Linked DNA regions of Homo sapiens: region 1 is linked to region 2. The links are contacts of gene promoters, found by promoter capture Hi-C in blood cells and fetal thymus (Javierre and others, 2016). All regions are on one chromosome and are shown on one strand. Each heading gives the region's core, a stretch centred on a gene start or on the middle of the fragment in contact. The rest is flanking DNA. Distances are from core to core; before and after follow the strand shown.

The links. The method cuts DNA at HindIII sites, captures the fragments that hold promoters and counts their contacts. A CHiCAGO score of 5 or more calls a contact.
Region 1: the fragment with the promoter of DZIP3 here is called in contact with the fragment with the promoter of PCNP in region 2 in 1 of 17 cell types (naive B cells); the score reaches 6.8 in naive B cells.

The regions. Positions count from the first base shown.
Region 1 is chr3:108,588,047-108,593,375 of GRCh38, reverse strand. DZIP3 (DAZ interacting zinc finger protein 3) reads right to left here and starts at 3,654. Exons shown (of 33, transcript NM_014648.4): 1 at 3,537-3,654. It overlaps CIP2A (cellular inhibitor of PP2A), which reads left to right and starts at 3,938. Exons shown (of 21, transcript NM_020890.3): 1 at 3,938-4,102. The coding sequence starts at 4,001. RefSeq lists an enhancer at 3,460-3,739. The HindIII fragment of the contact is 803 bases long and covers 3,091-3,893 here.
Region 2 is chr3:101,570,463-101,575,962 of GRCh38, reverse strand. PCNP (PEST proteolytic signal containing nuclear protein) reads right to left here and starts at 1,783. Exons shown (of 5, transcript NM_020357.3): 1 at 1,684-1,783. The coding sequence starts at 1,747. RefSeq lists enhancers at 1,264-1,423, 1,444-1,603, 1,684-1,813, 1,914-2,183, 1,627-2,572. The HindIII fragment of the contact is 5,212 bases long and covers 1-3,859 here.

The sequences.
Region 1 (5,329 bases), core at 2,405-4,904, 7.0 Mb before region 2:
ATAGGATTGTTACTACTGTCTACGTGACCTTGGGCAAATTACTTCCCCTTCCTATCTTAGTTTTTTCATCTCTAGAATGGAAATCATAATAGTTCCTACAGCATGGGGTTGTTATAAAGATTAGATAGGTAAGTAGAAAGTCCTTAGGACAGTGCTTGGCACATGGCAAATGCTCAATAAGTGTAAACTATTATTATCCCAAGAACAAAAAGGCAACATAATCCACTGTGTTATAATTTTAAAGTGAAAAATAAAATATATAAATGTGAAAACTGGATAATTTTTGGCAGACATTTTTTAGAATGAAACAGATATAAAAGCCAATCTCTTAAACATGATGAATATCAAAAGCCAATAGCACAAATTATACTGTGTTAAAACACTGTTCATTCTCATTAAATTATGTAAAAAAGCTGTTCAAAGTTAACATGATTTTCCATATTTTGGAGCTTACACTAATGCAATAATGTAAGACAACAAATACTGGAAGGGGTGAGGTAATTATTTGCAGATGATATATAGGCAGAAAGTCTAAGTAAACCAATCTCTATTAGAATAAACGTAATGATAAATAAACATAATAAGAATGGAACAAGACAGTATGACAAACTATATAAAATCTCACTGAACATAAAATATAACCTGAATACTTTTTTTTTTTTTTTTTTTTGAGACAGGGTCTCCCTCCTGTTGCCCACATTGCCCAGGCTGGAGTGCAGTGGGGCAAACATGGCTTACTGCAGCCTTGACTTCCCAGGTTCAGGTGTTCCTCCCATGACAGCCTCCTGAGTAGCTGGGACTACAGGCATGCACCACCCACACCCATCTAATTTTCTGTATTTTTAGTAGAGGTGGGGTTTCACCATATTGCCCAAGCTGGTCTTGAACTCCTGGGTTCAAGAGATCCTCCTGCCTCAGCCTCCCAAAGTGCTGGAATAAAAGGCATGAGCCACTACGCCTGGCACACCCTTAATACTTTCTATTAACTAACTCAGCAGTATCTGTATCTTCTCATTCATCCAACCTAAAAACTTAGTATCTGCTAGACTCATCCCTCTCTTCATGCCTCACATCCACTATCAGTCACCAAATCCTACCTATTTTACTTCATATATACTTCTCGAATTTGTCACCTATTTTGTATCTCCACCTCAATTATCCTGGTTATCCTTTAGAAGGTTCCAGAAAATTAGTGTCCCTCTTTCCAGTCTTATCCTCCCCAAAATCATAGTTCATTCAGCTACCAGAGTAATCAATCTAAAAACAAACCTGACTAGACCAGGTGCCAGTTTAAAACCAGAGATTGCCACGGACTTCAAGATGGAGTCCAAGTTTAAGGCTAATAAGGCCTTTGGTCATTGGGACCCAGACTCATCTCTTTTTTTTTTTTTTTTTTTGACAGGGTCTCACTCTGCCACCCAGGCTACAGTGCAGTGGCACAATCACACTCACTGCAGCCTCAAGTGATCCCCCCAACTCAGCCTCCAGAGTAGCTAGGACTACAAGTGAGCACACCCATGCCCGGCTAATTTTTTCATTTTTTGTAGAGATGGCGTTTCACTATGTTGCCTAGGCTGGCTCCAACTCCTGGGTTCAAGGTCCTCCTGCCTTAGTCTCCCAAAAAACTGGAAATTAAAAGCGTGAGCCACTGCTCCTGGCCTCCTGCTCCTTTTCTTCCCTTTTTGAGGCCTAAAAGTATGGATTGGTGTTTCTCAAATTAGGATATGCAAGTATCTCTGATTAAAAATGTCAAGACTTATCACAGCTAGAAACGATCCCTCTTACTAAACTTACAACATCAATTTTGGTGAAGATTTTTTGAGAAAGACATTTGATATTAATTACAGAAGAGAATACAAAATTTGTATGACTGCTTAAGTCAAAATCCAACAAAGATGGCACTGATAGCACGCAGCTTTGCGCATTACCCTGGGCCTCTGAATGGGGACGATGCTGACACATCATCACAGATGAAAAGTCCAACACTATCAAACTCTGATCACTTCATTTGCCAATGAGGCACTGACTGTAACACTGAGAACTTAATTATGCCAGATGACAGCTGACACTTTACATTAATTCATTTTTTAACCATCTCCAAGACCGTATAGGACCTCATCTCTACTCCTCTCCTCCTCGTTCTTTCTACACTAGCCACATGGCATCCTTGTTTCTGGCATACAGTATCCCACTTTAGGGTCTTTCTTTGCCATTTCCTCTATCTAAAAACCTTTTCCCATAGAATATGGCTCCCTTTCTCAACTCCTTGAAGCATTTCCCCAAATGTTGCTTTCTTAATGAGGTCACCTTCCCATTTCCCTTATCAATTACCAACATTATTCTAGAGTAATAACGTCTATTTTTCTCTTTATATCATTTTCCTTACTTATTTATTGTGTTTATTATTTGGTTCCCTACCAAAATGTAAGTTGCATGCCAGTAGTATTTTTGTTTTTTTCACTGAGTCTATTGTGTCTAGAAAAGTGCTTAGCACATTGTAGATTCTCAATGAACTACTTATTGAATGAACAGTCCTATGAACCAGGTATCTCCCTTGGCCAGATTTTACCTAATGAAGATTCTGCAGCAGTGAGAACTTGCCTAGAGTCACATCGTCAAAGGTGGAGCTAGAATCTGTAAGCAACCTGGCTCTCTACTCTTTACCACTGCTGCATGTTACTGCATGGTGCCTCTCATTTATGTGGTGAATTTCAAAAGTACTATTTTGTATGTTTCCCTTACTAGACAGTTCCCTCGCAGCAGGGGATACTACTTCATCTCTGTTCCCTGACTGGCAGTTTCTAACCCATGTTACACGCTCTATAATTGTTTACGGAATGAATGAAAGCATAAATGAACACACAAGCTACCCAAAGATTTTTACATGAATGTCCCAACTGGTTAAATCATTTTTATCTTTCAGATTTAAACTTTTATAAAAAACAAAACCAAAACACCAAACCTGTCTTCAAAAATCTAGTAATTCAAAAAAATTCTTTTGAAGTGAAAAAACATGATTTCTGATAAACGATTTAATTAAATGGAAATGTACCCTATTCTTACAATTTCTACATCCTGGTTTTTAAAGCTTTATTCGACGTTAGGAAATATTAAGCAAAAAGCTCCAAAACCAGTAACTGACTCGCTTCATTACATACACATGCAATAATATTAAGCTATCTCCGATTTAAAAAACGCAAATAATAGTGCCATTTTCGTAGACATCGAGAATTATAAAACAATCAATCATGCCAGAGAGAAACAGACACCTTCACTTACAAAAACTGACGCTAACGAGTAACACCCTCCGGAGCAATACCTGGCCCAGGGTCAGCAGGAGGTAGTCTTCTCGAATAAATGTGACAAATACTTTGGTCAGGGCATGACTAATTTGCCACATAATGCCAATAGGTTGACTCTGAGAAACTACCATCCCCGGGCAGAAGGGGCGGGTGTAGGAGAGATTTAAAAACGAGGCCCCTCCCAGGCCGCCTCAAAATCTAGGGCCCAAGATTCTTCTCCTCAGAGCTCCTCACCGTGTCTAGACTAGGGGCAAGCGACCATTTCTCAGGTAGAGGATGACGCACAAACGAAAAACTGGCCATCCAACATGAAGGACGAGGAAGCGCACGAAATCAGAGCGCACAGCTGAGTGAGGAATCCCCCTTCTCCTAACCGATTCCTCTCCCGAGAAATCGCGAGATTTCTCGCCTTCACGGGATCTCAGGCCGAAACCTCGCGGCCTCTCAGACGAGGGTGGGTTAGCGGGGGCAGCTCCCAACCCCCGTCCTGGACCCACAAATCACCTCGACCCCTGGCCCACCCCGGCCGTCACCGAGAACGGTCCCCTAGGGTGCCTAGGGACTTCCGGAGCCCGACCGGATCCGGAAGCTTCTGAGAGCGAGGGGGTGGGGCCGAAAATCAAAAAAAGCGCGGCGAAAGCTAAAGGCCGGCGCACGCTGGGCGGTGGTGGTCCCTAAGCCGGGCCGCGGCCGGTGCAATGGACTCCACTGCCTGCTTGAAGTCCTTGCTCCTGACTGTCAGTCAGTACAAAGCCGTGAAGTCAGAGGCGAACGCCACTCAGCTTTTGCGGCACTTGGAGGTGAGAGGCTCTGGGGTAGAGGACAGATGGGGCTTCCCCTAGCAATTCTTATTTCACAGTGAGGCCGAGGAGTGGCGGCCCCAGCCTGGGAAAGAAAGGACAGTCCTTCGATCCCTCTGTTGTCTTTTCGTACTGGTAAAGGCTAGTGAGTGTCGGGGTTCCGCTGGCCGCAGCGAGAGGCAAGAGCGCTCACTGAAGGCTCTAGGAAAAGCGGGAGTGGGGCAAAAGGTTGGGAAGTTCAGGTTGTTTCGAGTAGGTAACGGAAAAAGCTCGGAACTTTATCTTTTCCTTTGCTTCTAGTTTTGGTTTTTCTACGAAACCAAGCCCTCAATACACAACTATTCTCAGTGACGGAAAGTCATGATTAAAACTTGGTTTTGCCCTTCGGTAATCTATAATTGAATTTGTTGCTTACTGCTCTTACTTGAACTCGGGTTGAACTCAAACTTGAAAAACATTATTTCAACATTAAGAAGCACTTCCCCTTCCTAGTAAGCGTAATCCTTTTTCTTTACCAAAATACATTGCTTACAGTTTTTTAATCTTAGAATGCTGAATTGCCTTTTTTTCTATTCTAGTGATATGTGTCCAGACGATTCCGTTTGTTTTAGGATCTTAATCTTCTGCTTTCATTTGTTTTGCATTTACGGAATTCAAACTAACATTGACCTCAGTTTAATTTTTTTAAAGCTCAATTAAGGCTTATTTTAACTCTCTGTGTCACAGCTTTCCTCTGTTAAGGTAGAATTGAACATAATTTTAAAATATATTGTATTATATTAACCCTATGATAAAAGACTAATGTGCCAAAAATTTGTAAAATATTACAGGAAAAAAATGATTTCCAGTAGTAGAGCAACAGCAGCTGTTAGTGAAGCTGCTGTTGTATTAAATGTGTCTGTCTTATCTTGAGCTTCACTGGTGCTCCTCTTTTCCCTACTTCAAGTGCCCATCTCCTAAGTACATTTGTTTTCTCTTTTTCATTCTTTATTTTAAGAAGTGCCTGCAAACCTAATAATTAAGGTGTTAGCTGTTAAATGCTTAAGGCTTTGCTTCTGAATTAGCATAGGCTCCAGAAGCCGCAGAATAAGCAGGGCAGTCCGTTTAATTTAAAAATCGGGAGTTAAGCATTTTGTATGCTATTCTGAAGCATTACCTTTCTTTGAATAAACAGGAAGGTTGTGCACTGAAAGAGATTTAAGGCACAGGGGCTTACACCTGTAATCC
Region 2 (5,500 bases), core at 534-3,033:
TAGAAGTTAAGGGATATTTACTTACTCTAAGTTACCAAGAAAAAGACCATAATAATTTTTCTGATACCAATTAGCAAAGTAATTCTCTACTACTTCTCCCCACATGCTAAAATGGAAACATCAATATTCATACTATAGAACTAATAACCCTCAACTGAAAGAATGGCAGGTAAATTATACAGTGGATTTATAATGACACTCAAGGTACATTTTGACAGCACATTAAACACGTCTGCTACCCTCGGTCAAGACAGTTAACGAGATGGCCTTAAAATCAACACATGATTCTTTAGGCTTTTCCTCAAACTACGTCTAAAATTTTTTGCTTTTCCTCAAACTACTTTTAAACTTTTATGTAATTTTATCCCACAATTTCCAATACAATTTTTTTGGGAAAAAAAATTCCCTAGTGAGAAAGTAGTAGATGGTTTAAATTTAAATTGTTCTTTCATAAGGTATTTTACTAGTTATAAAAAAAAAAAAAGACAGGGGGTGGGGAGGGAAGAGAGAGATGGAGTTCCAGCTTAACTAACAGAATTGTACGTGTTTTTTAAAAAGGAAATCCTGGGTCCAAAGTAATTAACATTACACTTAATCTTTTCAATAATTTTTGTTCCCAAGGCAATTAACATGAAACATTATGTTAGTAGGTCTACTAGTGGCCTTCATATGCTATTAATCGTTTCTATTTTCTCATATTAAATAATTTCGGGAATGATAACTAAGGTGGTCAGAATAGAGAATAATGTTTAAAATGTTCTAAAAACATTTTAAACAGCTCGCACGTGTTAAGTCACTTGTCTTGTTATGTGCAAAGAGGGAGCTGGAGAGATTACGTTTCTTTTCCTTCACGCACAAGACCCGAATTTAGGGAGTGGAATGGACAGAATAAGGATAGCTGTAACCTGAGTTTAACGTCGTAACAAAATACAGGAAGAGTCACGCTAGACTATTTAGTCGCCTAAGTATCTGGCAAGCGGTCAGCTGGCAACAGCCTAAGGGAGATACTTCAAAGAAAAGCAACCAAACCTTAGCCCTAGACCCCGCAGCTTAAACCAGAGGGCAGGCAAAGGCATTCCTCTTCCCCTCCATCACCTCGGCCCATCCTGTCACAGGGTCAATATTAAACTTGGAAGTAAAGGAAAGAGAGCAGGCCGGAGTTGTCCACCTCCTCAGTGAAAAGGGAGCAGCAAGCGTAATTAACTCCTGCGTGTAACTGAGAGGCCGGCACCGTCAGAAACTCAGCCTGCGGCCAGTTCCCGCGGCAACTACTCGGTGGCTCGCACTGTGTGTATGTTATGTCTCATGAGCGTCTCCGGTGTGTGTGTTTTGTGTGATGTGCGTCTCCGGTGTGGCGGTAGCGGCTCCTGCACCGCCGCTCCTGGTCCCACCCCGAGTTCGGTCTCCCTTTCTGGCGCCCATCTCCCTTCTCCTCGGAATCAGGGCCTCCGCTGGGGCCAGGAGGTGACGAACAGTGGCCGGCTCTCCCCAGGCAAGGAGGCGATGTAGGCCCGGAGCCCAGAGGGCCGCATCGGGCGTGCCCGAGGCAGGTCTGGGCCCAACACCTGGCCGGGTGAGGTCCAGATCCGCCCATTCTCGCCCCACCCCACTCCCCCCACCCTGGGAGCTCAAAGAAAGGCCCGGAGCATCCCACGCTGCCCACGACGCTGGGGTTGTGTTCACCTCCGGCGGCTCCAGCTCGCTGCGACTTTTCAGGCTTCTCGTCTCCCGCCTTCCCGTCCGCCATTTTCCCCGCCGCGGCCTCCCCTGCAGCCACGCCAAGGACGTCACGACCCCGCCCAACAACCATCGAGTTTTTGGGGCCAGCCGGCGTGGTGGCAGCCTAGAGCGGTCCCGAGGAATGAAAAGAGGCCGCCTTCGGAAGCGGAAGTGGATGTGATGTCATCGAGTAGCCGCCTCGGAAGGAAGAGCTGGGAAGGTTGGGCGGTCTAAGAGTGCTGGCTAGGCACTTTATTAGAGGGCAGTCAGGTCTTCATGGTCTAGCGACAGGTCCGGAGAAGTGAGGGGAAATGGAGCATCTCCCTGGAAACGCTGGGATCTTAGAAGGTTTCTGCATACCCAGATGTGGTTGCAGCTGAGGCTGAGAGTGTCTTCCGTTCCGGCCTTGCTGGATAACGCATGCCTGCCAACTCTATGTAAACAAAAAGCCTGCATTCTTTTTCCCTAAAGGGGAAATCAGTGTTTATCTAGCGCCCCCTAGCTTCAGACGCCTTTCATACACTCGTTTAATCACGGCGATTGTCCAAATATAGAATTCTCCTCTCAATTACCTGTAAGAGTTGAGGTCAGAGAGAGTAATTTGTCTAAGTCACGTAGCCAACTGTAAAGTTACTTTTTGTATAGTCTGCTTCTACCAAGTTGAGAAACTACTATGTCAAGTTAAGACTGCAGTAATTTCTGCCTTAATAAGAAACCTTTAGTGGATTCCTACAGTCTGCATTCTGAAGTCCGTGAGTTACATTAGGCCCTAGCCTACCTTTTCGGCTTCATCTTCCCCCTTTCTCAGTATTTATCCAGCCCTCCTAGCCAAATGGGGTCTATTACTTGCTTAGGGAACTGGAGTTTCTGGGTTTGTCTTACCATATATAGTTAGAGAAAGTCTTAGGAGTCAGAACTTGGATTTGAATCTGTTTTGCCCTTTCCTGCTTGAGTAACCTTGAGACTTGCTTACTGCCTACAGAGCTACCTTTTCTTCTCTATAAAAGAGCAATAATAATAGTACCTCCTCAAAGAGTGGTAATAGGGATCAAATGAGATCATCTTTGTATACCATTATTTGGTCACTTCATACTTCCCTCAGTTTGTGTGTGTGTGTGTGTGTGTGTGTGTTTTAAGTGTTGTCTCTCTGAATGGCTCAAAAGTTCCTTGACAACAGAGACCAGTTTTTAAAAACTGTGTACTGTGCGTTTCATATATGAATATAAAAAGTGTTCAATATTTGCGGATGGATTACTTCTCGGGCTTCAAGTCCAGGGAGTGGAGAAAGAATGAAGAAATTATCAAAGTGTGTTTCCCATGACAGAAGCAGGGCAGTGTGGTGGTGATTTTGTGATCTAGGTTGAAGTCCCTGATCCATCATTTATCATATATGTAAAAGTAACCAGCAAACTATCTTACAGGTACTTAATTCATGTTTGTTTCATTTTCCTTGTGATCTTTTCAAGGTAATCATTGAGACTCTCGTTTCTATCATTTTAAAAATGGAGATATACACGAAGATTTTTATTTGAGATTATGTATTTACAGATGCTTGTAATTTTTTATGGGGGGTGGAATGGAGTCTCTCATTCTGTCACCCAGGCTGGAGTGCAATGGCATGGTCTTGGCTCACTGCAACCTCCGCCTCCTGGGTTCAAGCGATTCTCCTGCCTCAGCCTCTCGAGTAGCTGGGACAACAGGCGCGTGCCACCACACCCGGCTAATGTTTGTATTTTTAGTAGAGACGGGGTTTCACTATGTTGGCCAGGCTGGTCTCGAACTCCTGACTTTGTGATCCGCCCACCTTAGCCTCCCTAAGTGCTGGGATTACAGGCGTGAGCCACCGTGCCCGGCCGATGCTTGTAATTTTTAAGTGAAGAAGATAAAGCTCAGAGAAGTCACATACCTATTTAGGAGCGGATCCAGTTCCCATATACCACACTGCAGAAGTTAAGGATGCATGTGCAGGACTAGGTATGAAAGGAAAAAAACGAAACAAAAAAAGGATGAAGATAGTAATCCATTCACCTTTCAGTTCTGTGAGTTTCATGAGGTGTGCCTGTCTTGTTCACCACTGTTTCCCCAGCACCTGGATTATACTAGTCTGGATAAATATCTATTGAAGAAATTAATGCAAGCTTCAGTAACCTCCTACAAACGGGTTAGGAAATGGAAAGGTAGTGTAGTATGAAGGGGTGGAAAGGGGGTGATCACTTTCCTCCCCATCAAAAGAGTCATGACAACATGCTTGTTAATAAAAGACAGGTTAACAAGAGAAAATTAATGTGCATAAGCATGGGAATGATACAACAAAATAAGAAAACTAAAAAAAGGGTCAGATGGTTGAAGTTTAATACTTTTCATAGGGGAGAGAGAGGTGGGGGGGCTACAGGCAATTTTAGAGGAGTAGTAAATGATTTTAGGAGAGATTAATGCAGAAATTCACTTGTAAATTATTCTCTTTGTAAACCAAGTGAAACTAGAGAACCAATAATAATTCGAAGGCCAGTCGTGGTGACTCACTCCCATAATCCCAGCTACTAGGGAGGCTGAGATAGAAGGATCACTTGAGCCCCGGAGGCAAGGTTGCAGTGAGCCAAGATCTCGCCACTGCACTCCAACCTGGGTGACAGAGTGAGACCCTGTCTCAAAAACAAAAAACAGTAGTTTGAGGCAAAGTTTGGGCTCTAAGTGTGGTGGTTAATTTTCAGTCTCTTCCTCTATGATGTGAGTTTTGTTTTTTTATGAGACCAGGTCGCACTGTGTTGCCCAGGCTGGAGTGTGGTGGCTATTCACAGGCATGATGATAGCACACTACAGCCTCAAACTCCTGGCCTCAAGAATCCTCCCATCTGAGACTCACAGGTAGCTGGGACTACATGTGTGCACCACTGTATCTGGCTTTGTGATATGTTTTAATTTCTTCTGGTTAATGAAATTTCAGGGAGGAAGCAGATAGAAAGCAATTGTGTTCTTTGATGTGTGTGGTTTCTAGGTAGATAAGAAACTTCAAAGAACAGTCTTATCCCGTGTTTTGGGGGAGGCAGAGGATTGAGAGGCAGGAGGTGGGGTGGGGAGATCAGAGAAACCTTGCGGCTGCTTCTCTAGTTCAGCATGTCAAAGCACCAAATTTTGGGGTACCGTTTTCTGACAATGAATAGGCAATGTAGTCCAAGGCAAAGAGCATTAGTTTTGCACCACACAAAAACTCGACTTAAATTCTAATTCTGCATTTTGCTAATTCTGTGAGTTTGTACTGGATAACAATGTTATGGAATATGTTATAACTATACAAATGGAATAATACATATAGGGTTACTGAGGGCATTGGGATAATAAAGGTTAAATCTATAATATGCTGCCTGGCCATGGTGAGAGCTTGCTTCATAGTAGCTATGGATTATAACCTCTAGTGAGCTATTTAAGTGGTTTAAAAGGCTGGAAATGGAAGGTAATATGAGCAATTATTATTTTAATTTAGATGTGTAATTTGTGAGGCGACAACTATAATATCTAACATTTATTCAAGCTTACTATACACCAAGCATTGTTGCAGGTATTCTACATGAAATTCAGTACATTAAATCATTACAACCCTGTGAATTAAGTGCTACTGTTACTCCCATTTTTATGGAAGAGGGAATTTGGGCACGGAAAAGATAAGTAAGAAGTGGAGCTGAACTTGAAATTCAGGCCAAGAGCTACCAAAAAAAAAAAAAAAAAAATTAGAGTGGAGAAGAAAAGTGGCTAATCTTGATTTCACTAACCTTAAGTAGGTTCT